Regions from separate parts of the Homo sapiens genome. Here all the other regions are linked to region 1. Evidence: promoter capture Hi-C in human tissues and cell types (Jung and others, 2019). All regions are on one chromosome and are shown on one strand. Each heading gives the region's core, a stretch centred on a gene start or on the middle of the fragment in contact. The rest is flanking DNA. Distances are from core to core; before and after follow the strand shown. Region 1 holds the start of PDE7B (phosphodiesterase 7B). Region 2 overlaps PDE7B (phosphodiesterase 7B). Region 3 overlaps PDE7B (phosphodiesterase 7B).

Region 1 (4,575 bases), core at 1,642-4,141:
ATTGGCTCCTCTCACTAATCTCCCTCCTTTGTACTTAGCACCCAATCCATTTAACAAGTCTTATTGTCCTTAACACCAACATATAATTGGAAGTAAACCACTTCTAGCCACCTCCACCAAAGCATCGTGGTAGACACCACTAGGATGTCTGGCTTGTTTATTGCAATATATCGTTTATTAGACTCTCTTCTACCTTGACCTCCACATGGTAGCCAGAGCGATCCTGTCAAAAAGTAAGTCAGATTGCCTCATTCCTCTCCTTAAAGCCCTGTTTCATGCAGACAGGAAGCCAAAGTCCTTACAATGACCTAGAAAACTCTCCTTGATCTGTCACCTCTGCACCCATTGCCATATCCTACTACTTACCAGCCAAATACTCCAGTCCCCAGAGCCTTGCACTTAATGTCCTCTTGTTTAAAATGCTCTCCCTATGCCTCCCTCATCAACTTCCCCTTTGTGTCCAACATCATCTTTGCAGTGGCACCTTCTCTGCATACTCACTTTAAAATTGCAAGCCTCTATCTGACTAGTGACCCTTCCCTCTCCTGTTTCTTCTTCACAACAGTATTACCACCCGATATCCTATATAAATTTTTTATTTGTTGTTATGGCCATTCTCCTTTCAGAAGAATCTAAGTTTCGTGGGGTCAAAGAATTACGTGTTGGAGGGTGTGTATGTGTGTTATATGTTTTCACTGCATTCTCCCCAGCACCTAGAACAGTGCCTGGTACAGAGTACACAATCAAATATCTGTTGCTGTTCAGTGAAGGTCCAGAACTGTTATTTATTTCACCTCAAAACCAGGCTCTTCTCCCAGTCTTCCCCATGTCAGTAAATGGCAACTCTAGTCCAGTTTGCCCAAGCCAGGAACCTGGAAATTACTCTTGATTCCTCTCTTTTTCTCACACCTCTCATCTTCAAATACTGCCAACGCTCTCTGCAAATACACAGGCCCCCTTCCAAAATCTGGCCCTCCCACCTTCTCCACTGCTCTCACCCAAGTCCGAGCCATGATGTGCTCTCACTTAGGTTAGCACAGTGGCCTCATTTATTGGTCTCTCTGCTTCTACTCTTGCTCCCTAGGAGTCTATCTTCCACAGAGAAAAGAGAGAAATCTCTTCAGAATTCGTGTCGAATCATAGACATTCCTCAGTTCAAAACACTCTGATAGGTAGGTTTTCACCTTGGAATAAAATCTAAGTCGTGTGCATGGCCTGTAAGACATGTCCTGATCTTGTCCCAGACATACCTTCTGAAACTTATTTCTTCCCTTTGCTCATTCTCTTCCAGCCACTCTATTTCCCTTCCTGTTCCTTGGCTCTGCCAAGCACTCATGTGTTGTGGGACCTTTCCATGGCTTCATCTGCATGGAAGGTAGAGGCACACAGTACCTGCTATGTCCCATCATTCGGGCCTCCGCTCCAAGTTGCTTTATCAGAGGGCTGCCCTGATCATCTTTCCTAAAATAGCACACACACCACACACACACACATGCACGTGTACACACACACCTCATTCTCCTTACCTTATTTTGAAGCCCTCATTGCCAACTGACATTATACGTTTACTTATTTTTCTTTGACAATTTCCCTGCTTCTCCAAAATGTAGACTCCATGGGGGCAAAGAACCATCTGTTTTGTTCACTATTGTAGCTTCAACACCAAAGATAAACCCCAACAACTACAGGGATGCTTAATCCTAGCGCCTAGGCTCTTAGGGATACATAAATACTTTCTTTCTCAAAGAAACAATATTAGTATTTGAAAAAGGAATGTGGACATTCTTTAGTGTTGCGCCCACCCCTAAAACATAGTCTGCCTCGGAGCAATGGAGAAATCTGATTGGCCCCTGTGGGTCCCATGCCCCCTTGTGGCTCTGTCGTGGGAATGGGGCTGGGGGCAAAGTCCATGCAATCCATAGAAGATAGAGGAAGGAAAGTTCCGCCCACCGCCCACCCAAAAAAGGTCTGTTAGCAGAATTTAGGATGGGGATGGGGAAAAGGAGGAGGATGTGGGGGAGGCAGAAACAACAGATGGCAACTATGGGGATTTTTCCAGAGTGGGAAGTGTAACCCAGGGATAAGCTGGGGTCCCTGGTAAAGGAAGTATCCCTAAATAACTGGACCTTCATACTCTTTGGGAAAGAACAAGCTGAGGCCCCAGGCACACCTGCATGGCATCACCATAGCCTTGCTTCTTGAATGACTCCTGCTGGCATCAGGAGGCATCTCCCTGGCAGGAACAAGCCTGAGGCTTCACCACGGAAGCTGGAGGAAACGCAGGGACCCATGGCACAAACTGACACAGGAGTTCTATGTTTCATTGCACATCATTTTGTTCACCAGTGCATTTGTACGATTCTGCCTCTATGGCTATCAAGTTTAATTAACAACTCATTTTTAGGTAAGAGTAAAAATGAATTAGGTAAAAAAAAATAAGCAACAGCTGCCAAGTGAGCATGGAGCACATACACTCACAGATGGAAAAAATCTACATCTTGCTGCTATGATTTAGCTCAGGGTTTTATATTTAATTTTTGTTTTGTTTTGCTTTTGTTTTTATACACCTCACCACAAGGTATTTTAAATTCTTTAAATGTATTCCCGAATATAGAAAATGTTTCTTGGGCTCTCCTGAGAGTGGGGTGCCCAGGCTGACCACAGGCACACACACATTCTTCCCATAGTACAGTACTTTAAAATTAATAGCACATGCAGAGGAAAAACTAAACCCTTTGACGTCACTCTTGAAATGAGGAAACATAAACAGAAAAGGCTCCACTCCAGTAAGCTGCCAGAGTTGAAGCCGATTGGTCTCTGCTTTTCCTTGCCTGTGGCAACTGACAGCACCTCCCAGCCTAGCAGGCCGGCGGCTGCTCACCCAGCCAGTCAGTTGGTCTGGGCACTGCAGCAGGCTCGGCTCTGTCCCAGCACTTGTCTGGGAGAAAAGTGGTGTTACTCACCCAGGGAGAGTCTCTCTTTCTACCTTCCTTCTTTCTCGATCTCCTTGTGTGCTTTTGTGTTTCTTTATTTCTTTTCCTTTTTTTTCTTTTTTTTTTTTTGTTACTTAATTATATTCCTAATCCTGGATGAAGTTGCTGGATTCTGCAGCACAAGTCTTCATGAACAAGCAGCACCGCTCAGAGATTTCACGGCATTCAAAGGTCACAGAACTGCCACTATGGTTAAATGTCTTGTTTAATGGTTGAGGTATGTACAACAAATTTAAGCGGCAAGCTCAGTTTTCTTGAGAGAATAGAGTCACAGAGAGATGGCAGGATTTTTATTTAAAATGAACCTGTACATATATATGTTTTTTGTCTGTGATTGTTACTACAGCAACCAGCTTTTGAATTTCCTTCCTTTTTCTAGGCGAACTGACTAAACATTATCACTTACCCTGAATTAACCGTTTAAGGGCAGCAGGGTTTCATTCCAACCAGTGTAATGAGACTCCGGCATTTTCACTGCACTTTGAGCCCACACTGAGGTGGTCTTTAAAAAAAAAAATAAAGAATGCAATATTTTTTTTCTCCAACATAAATCTTGGAGTTGGGTAATTTTCATTTTTGGTGGGACAGGATAGGAAAATGCTGGTAAAGGGATTGGTAAGGTTTGTGGAACAGGGAAGAAGGAAATTAGTTTTTTTCTTGAGTTTTTCATGTTGGTTGATAGCAGACTTCAAGATGAAGAAATTAGTGGCAAGAAGGGAAGAAGCTGATAGTGAGACTGAAGGTAGAAAAAAATCAATAGAAGATGTCCAAAAAATGAGCTCTGAAGAAAAATCCTTCATCACCTTGTTGCATTTTTCAAAAAATGTTTTGGATTCAGAAGTCCAGGAGAGATGCAAGTACTAAGTTACATGACCAGAAATTTAGATATTATTATTTATAAAGGAAAGTAAAACTTCTTTATTACCACTGCAAATTTGCTAATTATCTTTTCCTACAATAGTTGAAAATGGAGTCAGATATTCAATTAGGGGCTTAAGTGATTGAGCCTGGGGACTAATTAATCATTTAAAAATTCTGTTCTTCATGTGCTCTAGCCAGAGTGACTATTGCAATAAGAGTAAACCTCTTTGCACCAGAGACAGGCATAGGCATTCATATACAGTAAACACACTAAATGCTGCAGGAAGATTGGCAATTCAATACAGGGCTAATGTTGTTTTCAGTGGCACATTATTATGTCTTAAGGAGGATCCCTGCTAAAAATCATTCCTATCCAAAGAGTCGGTTTTTGTAACAGCAATTTAAGTAATATATGGTTACCATGGATTTCCCTATTACCCTTCTCAAAGTTATGCAATAGCAAATAAGACAGGATTATTTGAAATCCTTACCCTGTTCCAAAATTTCTAACCGATTTTCTTAAAGTTTCTATTCTCAACATTGAGAACCTGAAAGCTTTAAAACTGGGTCATGTTAGCAGTAATATTAAGCACGATTTCAAACATGAGGTGTATTTCAAAGGGTTAAAAAAATTAACTGCATAAGACTGGAATGTACTAAGTTAAGAACTGCAAAAATATTAGCTCTGAAATGCAGAGGATGTGCCGTGAATGGACAATTG
Region 2 (4,989 bases), core at 2,448-4,947, 210 kb after region 1:
GTGTGTGCAGGGGAACTACCCTTTATAAAACCATCAGATCCCATGATACTTATTCACTATCACGAGAAGAACACAGGAAATACCTGCCCCCATGATTCAATTACCTCCCACCAGGTCCCTCCCAAAACACATAGGGACTATTACAATTCAAGGTGAGAGCCAAACCATATCACTGTGGAACTGTCTTTCATTGTGAGGGTCTGTAAAACTGTCCAGGTGGCTCATCTCTACATATGTGTATAGAATTAGAGCCAAATGTCTGGCACAGACCAAAGGCCAATCTAAAATCATTTCTGCTATCTAAAAGGGAGCACTGCTTCTTAATTTTTCTCTTTCCATTTTAAAGGTTATAATGGTAGATATGCCCATGATGGAATTAGCAGAACATGTTTTATGTGTGGGGAGTGAGAAGGGCAGGGAGATGATGTACTCTAACTTCTGTGCTGTAAAACATGTGGATTTGCCTTTCCAGTAGTAAACCTTGAAAGTATTCTTTACTTCTACTTTTTAATAAAACTTTTTGCTCTCTACCTTGAGTACCAGCACTGAGTCTTTTACTTCATTGGTAGTCCCTCAGTGTAGGAACACATGTAGATGGAGACACTCAAAAATTCAAGTTGTGTTAAAAGTTCAGAGTAAATATCTGAATACATTTTTCATTTTATTTGAACCCATTTCACACACTTTGCCCAACATTCTTCTCAGTGAAAATCCTTTTAGTATTTCCCAAAGATCCAGAAAGACTGGAAAGAATGTGCATGTTTAGATTAAAAGATAAATATTACACTGAAAGCAGCACAGTAAATATGAAAACAAGTGGATCCATTCCTATTCAGTACAAAAGTGAGGAGCAGCTGGGTGCTAAGTGTACCTAGATCTGCAGTCCAGACATTGTTTCTGAGACCACTTCCAAAGAAACTTACAGAGGAGGGCTGCCCATGTGGCATGGGCAAGGGGGCGGGGTCTAAAGGAACCAGATTAACAGCAGAAACGAAACAAGGTTCTTGCTCCTTTGTACAAAGAACAAGCTTCTTTCTTTGTATTAGTAAGACACTGGACAATGATCCTGCAAGATAAGGAAGGAGAAGAGGGGAAGACTAAAAGATTCCAGAAAGTATAATTTCCAAAGTAACACCGGCTTTTTAAAAGAACAATGGAGTTCAGAAAGGAAAAAGAAGACGGGAGCTAGATAATGCCAGAGGTGGCACAGAGAATGAGGGGAAACGTAGAAGGAGGAGGAGGAATCTGGATGGCACTAGAAAGACATGTTCTGTATTGTGTGTCTTAACTTCTTAGAGGTGAGCTGCTCCTATTCCTGACAGCTCACCAAGGTCAAGGTCGACAGTTGCTATACGTCTTCAGTCTTCCCCACACTAACCATGTTGAATAACTTTGTCCCTTCATTGGAAACCAAGCTTTAATTAAGGGCCAGCCAAGATATGTGCATACACAGGTGAACTGTTTATTTATAACGGTGATATGACTTCTAATTATATTAATGTGTTTTAAAGGCTTCGTGGGCCATCTTAAAAACTGTCAAGTTCTTTCTGCAGTTCTTGCTTTTTGGCAATTGCCCTACAAAGCTGAAAAGTTAGTTAGAGGCACACTTTTCAGTAAGCCTTCAATTCTGAGCTCCTTTGCAGATAGAATCCTTTTTTTTTTTTTTTTTTTTTTTTTTTTTTTTTTTTTGACAAGAGTTTTGCCCTTGTTGCCCAGGCTGGAGTGCAATGGCGTGATCTTGGCTCACTGCAACCTCCGCCTCCTGGGTTCAATCGATTCTCCTGCCACAGCCTCCCAAATAGCTGGGATTACAGGCACCTGCCACCACACCCAGCTAATTTTTGTATTTTTAGTAGAGACGGGGTTTTGCCATGTTGGCCAGGCTGGTCTCAAACTCCAGACTTCAGGTGATCCACCTGCCTCGGCCTCCCAAAGTGCTGGGATTACAGGCGTGAGCCACCGCGCTTGGCCGACTCCATCTTTTTTATGTTTGTGGTTCTGGTTTGTATTCTTTTTTGTTAATCTTATGAAAAATTAATAGCCTTCTATTTCCCTAAGCCCCTCCCCTTTGGCCCTATCATTAGGCATACTTCTCTTTAATTCATTATCATGGTTAAAAGATGAGCTCTGGAGCCCAATGGCCCTGTATCTTTACTAAAGTCTTTGGACCTCGGTTTTCTCATTTGTAAGATGGAAATAACCAAAGAAACTGCATTGTGGTGCGATTGTGAAGGTTAAATCAGTTAATCCACACAAAGAACTAGCACACTGCTGGTACATAATAAGCTAAGTGATGTACATGCTAATGGTTATTATCCCACACTATTCTCATTTCTACTGATTACCCAGAAATATTAAGTTGCCTTTTTATCTTATCCTTGAAGATCAGGAAGCACTAACTCAATTCACATTCCCTCATCCATGGTTCATTACTCTGAGTGATAAATAGTGGAAAGAAAAGTCATAGAACAGACTTTTGGCTTAATTATATTTGCAATTCCCATGGTAAATCTTGAAAGTATCCTTCTATTTTTTAATCAAACTCTCACCCATTATACATCAAAGTATACAATGAAAGCCTAATACCTCTAATCATACAATTACCAAAATGTTCTGAATGGTTTAGGGTGGAGATGCAGAGTTTAAAATTTGGTTGTGTCAAATTACATGCAAAAGTAATTTTGTACACACAATGTTGAATTTGCCAGTATTTGGTTGTCAACTAAATCCTTAGTTAAAAGGAGAAGTTTGTGTTCTGATTTTTGAGTTGTCAATTATTCATGGTATGAATGGCCACTTAAGTCAAAAACCCATGTCATCACAAAGCTTTTACTTGAATCTAGATTCTAGATCACCATTTTGTTGGGATGATATCTGCTCACAGTTTTTTGTTTGAGACGGAGTCTTGTTCTGTCACCCAGGCTGGAGTGCAGTGGTGCCATCTCAGCTCACGGCGACCTCCACCTCCCAGGTTCAAGCAATTCTCCTGCCTCAGCCTCCCAAGTAGCTGGGGTCACAGGCGTGCACCACCTCGCCTGACTAATTTTTTTATTTTTAGTAGAGACGGGGTTTCACCATGTTTTCCAGGCTGGTCTCGAACTCCTGACCTCAGGTAATCCTTCTGCCTCGACCTTTAAAAGTGCTGGGATTACAGGCATGAGGCACTGCGCCCGCCTCTGCTCACAATTTAATAATGCAAAAAGACAATCTATAACACATTGCCATTAGAATTCCAACCACTGCTTTTTAGGAATCAAGACTGATCACTCTTGACAAGTGGCAGATCTTTCCAAAGCACCAGATAGGGGGGAACTCAAAAATCAGGGGTTTTGTAAAGAGATCAACATACAGTAATAGTTTATCTCCTAATGAAATTGGCAGGGGTCAAGGTCTTCCAGTTATGTTCAAGAAAAACCATTAGATATCCTCATGAGATTTCAGAGTTTGGATAATCTTCAATTGGAAATAAAGGACACCCTGAAAACATGTAACATCTGCTCACCCACAAATGTCCAAAGGAGGCTGAAAATATTCAGAATTCCCAGCATGCTCACTGGACAAAAACTATGTCCCCATCCCACCTCCAGTGTCTATTTCCTGGGAATTCAGTAGCAAAGCAGAAACAATAACCAAAGGGAATTAAGAAAAAAGAATACCTGGTTAATTACTTTTAAGGTAATAAGACTAGTAAGAATTATCTGAGTTTTGGATGTACTATTCATTAGCAGCCCTAGTTTATGATATTCCAATGTTTTAAGCAATGGTAGATTCAGGAGGCTTATAAACCTCATCTTTTATCAACACACATGTTAACTGGTATCCTTCTGTGCTGTCAAACATGTGGATTTGGGGAAAATGTAAGAGAGGGGATGAGGAAGAGAGATTTTAATGGGTGGTATTTTACAGAATTCAGGGGGAAAAATAGTATACCATGTCCATTTACTAGAACTAAATGACTACTAGAACCAAAGTCATTTACTTTAAATAACTACTCAACCATTGAGGACACTGATTTGGGGGGAAAAAAGTGATTTATATAACGAATAGTTTAATAGAAAGTAAGCCTTTTAGGTTCTGCTATGGAAATAGCAGAAATAGGATTAGAGAGTCAGCAACTTAAATACACATAATCCATGATTATGTCTTTTTAGATGCATGAATTATGAATGAGTCAGTCTGAACAGTTGTTTGGCATGAAGTGTGTTGACAGGTCAAGTTGACCTGTGCTTTGGGCCAGGGGTGGTCTAACTAACAGCAACTTTACAGTTTAGGAGTTAACCCATTTATGCCAGAGATTGCAATTTATTTTTGTAAAAAATCAGACCTTGGTGATGACCTTGAGCAATAGGATATAAATAACTCCCACAAGGTTAGTCTTCCAATAATGGAACACTAGGCATAAATGGGTTGAGTGACTTGTTTCTGAGGCAGAGAAAAGATGGAAGAATGAATGCAGACTTCATCTCTGACCCCAATTGCTTAATAATTCCTCAATGCAATTATACAAAATTAATCAAATCCCTGGATGGAGAATCAAAAGGCAATCTTCCTACTTGCTATGCCGATGTAAACTTTCCTTCTCTGTGCACCACAGCCAGACAAACTGGATGCTGTGGAGATCTGAGCTGTGGTGGAACCCTGCCAGGAAGGCACAGTCGCTTGAAACAGAGCCCGCATTTGATTTAAGCTCAGAATGACAACTTTGGCAAGGAGGGGTGGTGGCTTTGCTGCAGTTGAGCGGGAAAAGCCTAGATGCTAGGCATAAATTTATAAGTTTTAATTATGCAAACTCCAAGAACGTAGTAGCTGCTTGAATACTATCCCAAAGTCTACTCGATTAATCTCCCCAAAATCATGCTGCTCAGTTTTCATGACTACTTCACATTCAAAATTTTAACTCTTACCTCCTCACAGTTGAAATAAATGGATTGCTTCCATAAGTAAAAGGCTAATCATCCTACACCTTAATTAAGAAAATAGTGAAGGTGG
Region 3 (4,427 bases), core at 1,258-3,757, 250 kb after region 1:
CTCATTTTCCCTCTGAAAAACTATCAAGCTCAAAAATGAGGATAGCTCTTGTTGACACTAGTCTAAAACCTGCCTTACCTTCTTTAGAAAACAAACACACTACTATTTACATATTCACTTTTCAGCATTCAAGTTCCAAAATGCACATTTGTCAGAAAGTCATCATTCTAAGCTAAAGATGCAAGGTGATGCAGTATTGTTTGGCGACTCTAACTTAGTGAAATTTCCCTTTTCTCTGATTTTTATATGCAAATCAAGATTTTTAAGAAGAGAAGAAAGAACTTTTTTCACATGCAAAGAAAATTGTGTTTCATTCCTTTTGCGAAAAATGTGGTTTCTGGACGACTAACTCCTGGTTTGCCTCTTTCCTACATACAAAGCTCTCTCACCGACAGCCCAGGAACACACAGCTAGTGAAACAGAACAATGGACAGGAAGCCTCCTACTTAGCCAGTTCAGCACATAGTCCTTGATGACCAGGCAGGCCCAGTGTCACTCAAGAAAGTGGAAGATTGAACGCCCACAGGGGAAATTTGGGTCTAATCAGCCATCTTGGCTCCCTCCTGTAAGATCATGGTACTCGGAACAATAATCTCTGCCTAAGTTATCTGAACTGGCTGCTTGTGCTATCCCATAAATCTATGGAGTGATTAAATTGCACAACCTTCCTCCTCTCTTTTAGGCCAGATAAACATCTTAGGAGAAATCGTTCACTTAGTTAATTTGGAGAGTAGTCAGCTGAAATAAACAAAGCTTCTAGCTGAGATGTGCAGTATGGTGAAAGTTGTCTGAGATTTGGGATCTGGATTTTCTCTGTCTTTATTTTGCAAGTGGTGGCAGTGACATGAATTAGTAATGTGCTCAGCAAGCTCAGAGGAATACCTTTCATGAGAGCTGCTTCTTTCCCACCATATTTGGGCTGCTTTGCGGCTTCACCTTTCTGATACCAGCACTATCTCATCTTCCTGGTTCCTTAGTGATGCCCCTGCTATGAATCTCTATCCCATATTCCGTGCAACCTGTTTATACCAAGAACGTCACTATCTTCTTCATTCATCTCAGATGCCATGGAAGCCCAGTAGCTACTGCTCTGTCCCTGACACCTTTTCCTCACCCTGAAATGACCTTGACATACCACGACAGGGGCCAGAGTCTGGTTCTTGTCACATGGCCTGTGTTTCAGCCACTGTAAGTTGTCATCGCTGTCAGAGTCTCCACCCTCTTTGCCAGTTACATAAGAGGCTACATAGACATCTGCTTCCTAGCACAAGCTTTTATTAACCAGAGGCAGCGTGAGAGGCCAAGTAAGCAAGAGGTCCATTCCGGAGCCCTGTCCTCAGGGAGGGTGAGGGGCTGTCGTCAGGTCAGGTCGTGGCTCCTGGGGCAATTCAGCTCAGCTCTGAGCCTGTTTGCAGCCTTCAGTACAGGGGATGACATGTGATGTTGTCAGCCTGAAGGGGCAAAAAAAAGCAGCAGCCTTTCAAAATCAGAATGCCCCTGCTGTTTGTTTCCTTTTGGAACACAATAAGAACAGACTGGGGACATGACTCTAGGCTGTCAACGCTTCCTACCAGCTTCCACAGCACCTTTCATATGCCAGAAGAAAAAAAACAAGTTGCTTAAGTTAAACAAGGACTCAATGAATAGTCAAAATAATTGTTTAGCTTGGATATAAGGCCTTAGGTAAATAGATGATTGCCTGAGACCCTGGGCCAGGAAAAGCAGCTAGGCAGGACACCGCTTGTTCTGTCCCTCAGAAAACAGCCCAGTAGCCTCTGCTCCTCTGAGGACTGTTGTTACTGAATTAATTCTCTCTTCCCACCAGCGTATTAAAGCAATTTAATATCAGAACAGGCTCCTTAAAGCAGGGAGAAGGAAAGAAAACTTTCTATATTAGAAATATACCATTAACACATAAATCTTACTACATGAGCGCTTCCATTAAATAGAATGCTTCAGATTGGGAATGTCTGGTGTGTTTGTATTGAACTGTTTTCATGTTGTGAAATTTCTCAGATGCATTGTTAGCATACTTACAATTGTCCTGCCTCCTGCCTTACTGGTATTCTTAACATGATTTCATCCTTTTGAAAATGATTATTTACTACACCAAAGGGGCATTGTTAGGTTTATGAGGAATCAGCTTCTCAAAGTGCAGTGTAGTTATGGACAGTGTCAGCACTGAAATGGAATCTTCCAGGTATGGTTTCCTTATTTGTTGTTATTGCCGATTTGTTTGGGTTTGTTTGCTTGTTTAGGTATCTTTGCTCTCACCTAGCTCCATTGTTACTTGTCTCTTCTTCCCAAAGTAGGGTGCAGTGTGAAAATTTGTTGCCAGCTAATTTCAGTTCTGCTGAAGAATATTTTTAATAATTGCTTTCTTACTTAAAAGTAATAGATTCCTTGTTGATCCAGGACAGGATTTGGTTGTCTTGCTTGTACAGCCCATTTCCACTGAAATGCTCTTTGATTGAACCGTGAACTCATCAAGGGAGTGGGATTCTCCTGGTATTCTTTTTCCACAAATCATCATGACTGTACATTTGGTTTATCAGCAAACAGCAATCAAAGCATACATTACGTAAGAAAAAGTTAATGCTGACCTGTTTAACCAATTTTTCATCTTGATAATATAGGAAAGTGGTTAAGAACATGAGGTTTCAAGTCGGTTCTGAGTTTAAGCATAAGCTCTGCACTTACTAGCTCTATGAGTCTGAACAAATTATCAAATTTCCATTAGCTTTGCTTCCTCATCTGTAAAGCTGTCAAATAATAATAATAACAGCTACTTTGGGTTGTTGGGTTGATGATGTGAGATAATACATGTAAAATCCTCAGCACAGTATAAGTATTCAATGAATGTTATCTACCATATTATTTTCACATACCTTATAATTTCCTTACAACAACTCTGTGATGTAGATAAAATTGCTATGATTTATGCAATTTAAATATTAGACAACTGGACTTCAGAGTGATTACTGATTCATCCAGGGTTACCCAAGATGGCAAAATGTTCGTCCTGTCAGTACAGGAGCCCCCAAGTTCCCAGTGTATTGCCCTCCCTTCATCCATTTGGCCACAGGGTACTCTTCCTCAGTTTCCCTAAATCTAAAACTTTACGTAATAATGGGCCTCCGCTGCCCTAGATTGTCAGGTGAAGACCAGGAAGAAATCCTGTCACAGGCATTAAAAACTTCATCAATATTACACAGTGATTTCCAAAAGGTGAGCGTGAAAGTGCTGGAAGGAGCCCATGAGATTACAGCAACAGGTCAACAAATCCACAAGCCCAGCCAGCTTTGTAGATAAAATCTATACAGTTCCTCTTTGGTAATACTGAGAAGAAAATACTAATGGAGAAGTGATTTCCAAAAGGTGAGCGTGAAAGTGCTGGAAGGAGCCCATGAGATTACAGCAACAGGTCAACAAATCCACAAGCCCAGCCAGCTTTGTAGATAAAATCTATACAGTCTCCTCCATGCATCATTTTTACTGTATATGTCTCCCTTCTTACCATTATAAAACATAAATTTATTTAAAGTCAGTGAGTCTATCATTTTAACATGCTGTATTTTCTCAATTGATATTAAAACTACAACTACTTTTATGTGAGGATCTAAGATTTTCATTTCTTTTTTCATTTTAAAAACCAGGTCTACACACTCCCTAAGGTGTGTGTTTCTAATCATAAGGTTAGAAAACAACGGTATTGTAGAAAGAGCTCTTCCTATGAAGTCTAACAGCCTAGATTTAAGTGCTACCCCACTGACTATAAGCTGAAAGCACCATAAACTTAGGCAGCTCAATTAAAGTCCATAAATATTTACTATATCAGGACTTTAAGGGGCTTGTGCCCTTAACTGGGACTACAGAGCGAATAGTAGTCCTTCACAACCATTCTTCTCTGAGCCTCTATTTTCTTACTTATAAAGTAAAGAGAATAAAGGTGTCTCTCCTCACAGGGTTATTATGAAGGTCCAATGAGAAAAAACAAGAAGATAAATATACTGTCATGTTGTGAAAGTGCTTTGTAAACATAGGGTGTTCAAGACAACTGCCGAGGAGAGAAAAACACTTCAACTTTTCTTGGTAGCTTTCCTTTATTGACCAGCCACCCCATATTAAAGTACATAAGTACATTTTTTTTAAAGCTAACAGCTTTACCCTCATTGATGTAAGTTTATATTCAGACCTATAAAAGTACTTTTCCATCTATTCCTCTTCCTCTCACTTTGGTTTATAACATTTATCCATAAATTACAATATTCTTTCATATCAATATGGCAATGTAATATCACATTATACAAAGCATTGAAGAAGGCACCAATGTAAAATTCAAAGCAGAGAACAGCCCAAGAGCTCATGGCTTGCACTTTACAACCCCAAGTACACTCAAGGCCCATCTATGAGGGACATTTTAAGCA

What was found. The method cuts DNA at HindIII sites, captures the fragments that hold promoters and counts their contacts. A contact is called where the count stands out against the background at its distance.
Region 2: a fragment that was not itself captured here is called in contact with the fragment with the promoter of PDE7B in region 1 in 2 of the 25 tissues and cell types used here (IMR-90 fibroblasts and heart right ventricle).
Region 3: a fragment that was not itself captured here is called in contact with the fragment with the promoter of PDE7B in region 1 in 1 of the 25 tissues and cell types used here (hippocampus).

The regions. Positions count from the first base shown.
Region 1 is chr6:135,848,810-135,853,384 of GRCh38, forward strand. PDE7B (phosphodiesterase 7B) reads left to right here and starts at 2,892. Exons shown (of 13, transcript NM_018945.4): 1 at 2,892-3,210. The coding sequence starts at 3,190. RefSeq lists a silencer at 2,679-2,916. The HindIII fragment of the contact is 14,106 bases long and covers 1-4,575 here.
Region 2 is chr6:136,054,861-136,059,849 of GRCh38, forward strand. All of the region lies in intron 2 of PDE7B (phosphodiesterase 7B), which reads left to right. All of the region lies in intron 3 of PDE7B-AS1 (PDE7B antisense RNA 1), which reads right to left. Among named protein-coding and RNA genes, the nearest start is that of PDE7B-AS1, 15 kb to the right of the region's middle. The HindIII fragment of the contact is 4,952 bases long and covers 1,222-4,989 here.
Region 3 is chr6:136,102,718-136,107,144 of GRCh38, forward strand. All of the region lies in intron 2 of PDE7B (phosphodiesterase 7B), which reads left to right. Among named protein-coding and RNA genes, the nearest start is that of PDE7B-AS1, 32 kb to the left of the region's middle. The HindIII fragment of the contact is 6,608 bases long and covers 1-4,427 here.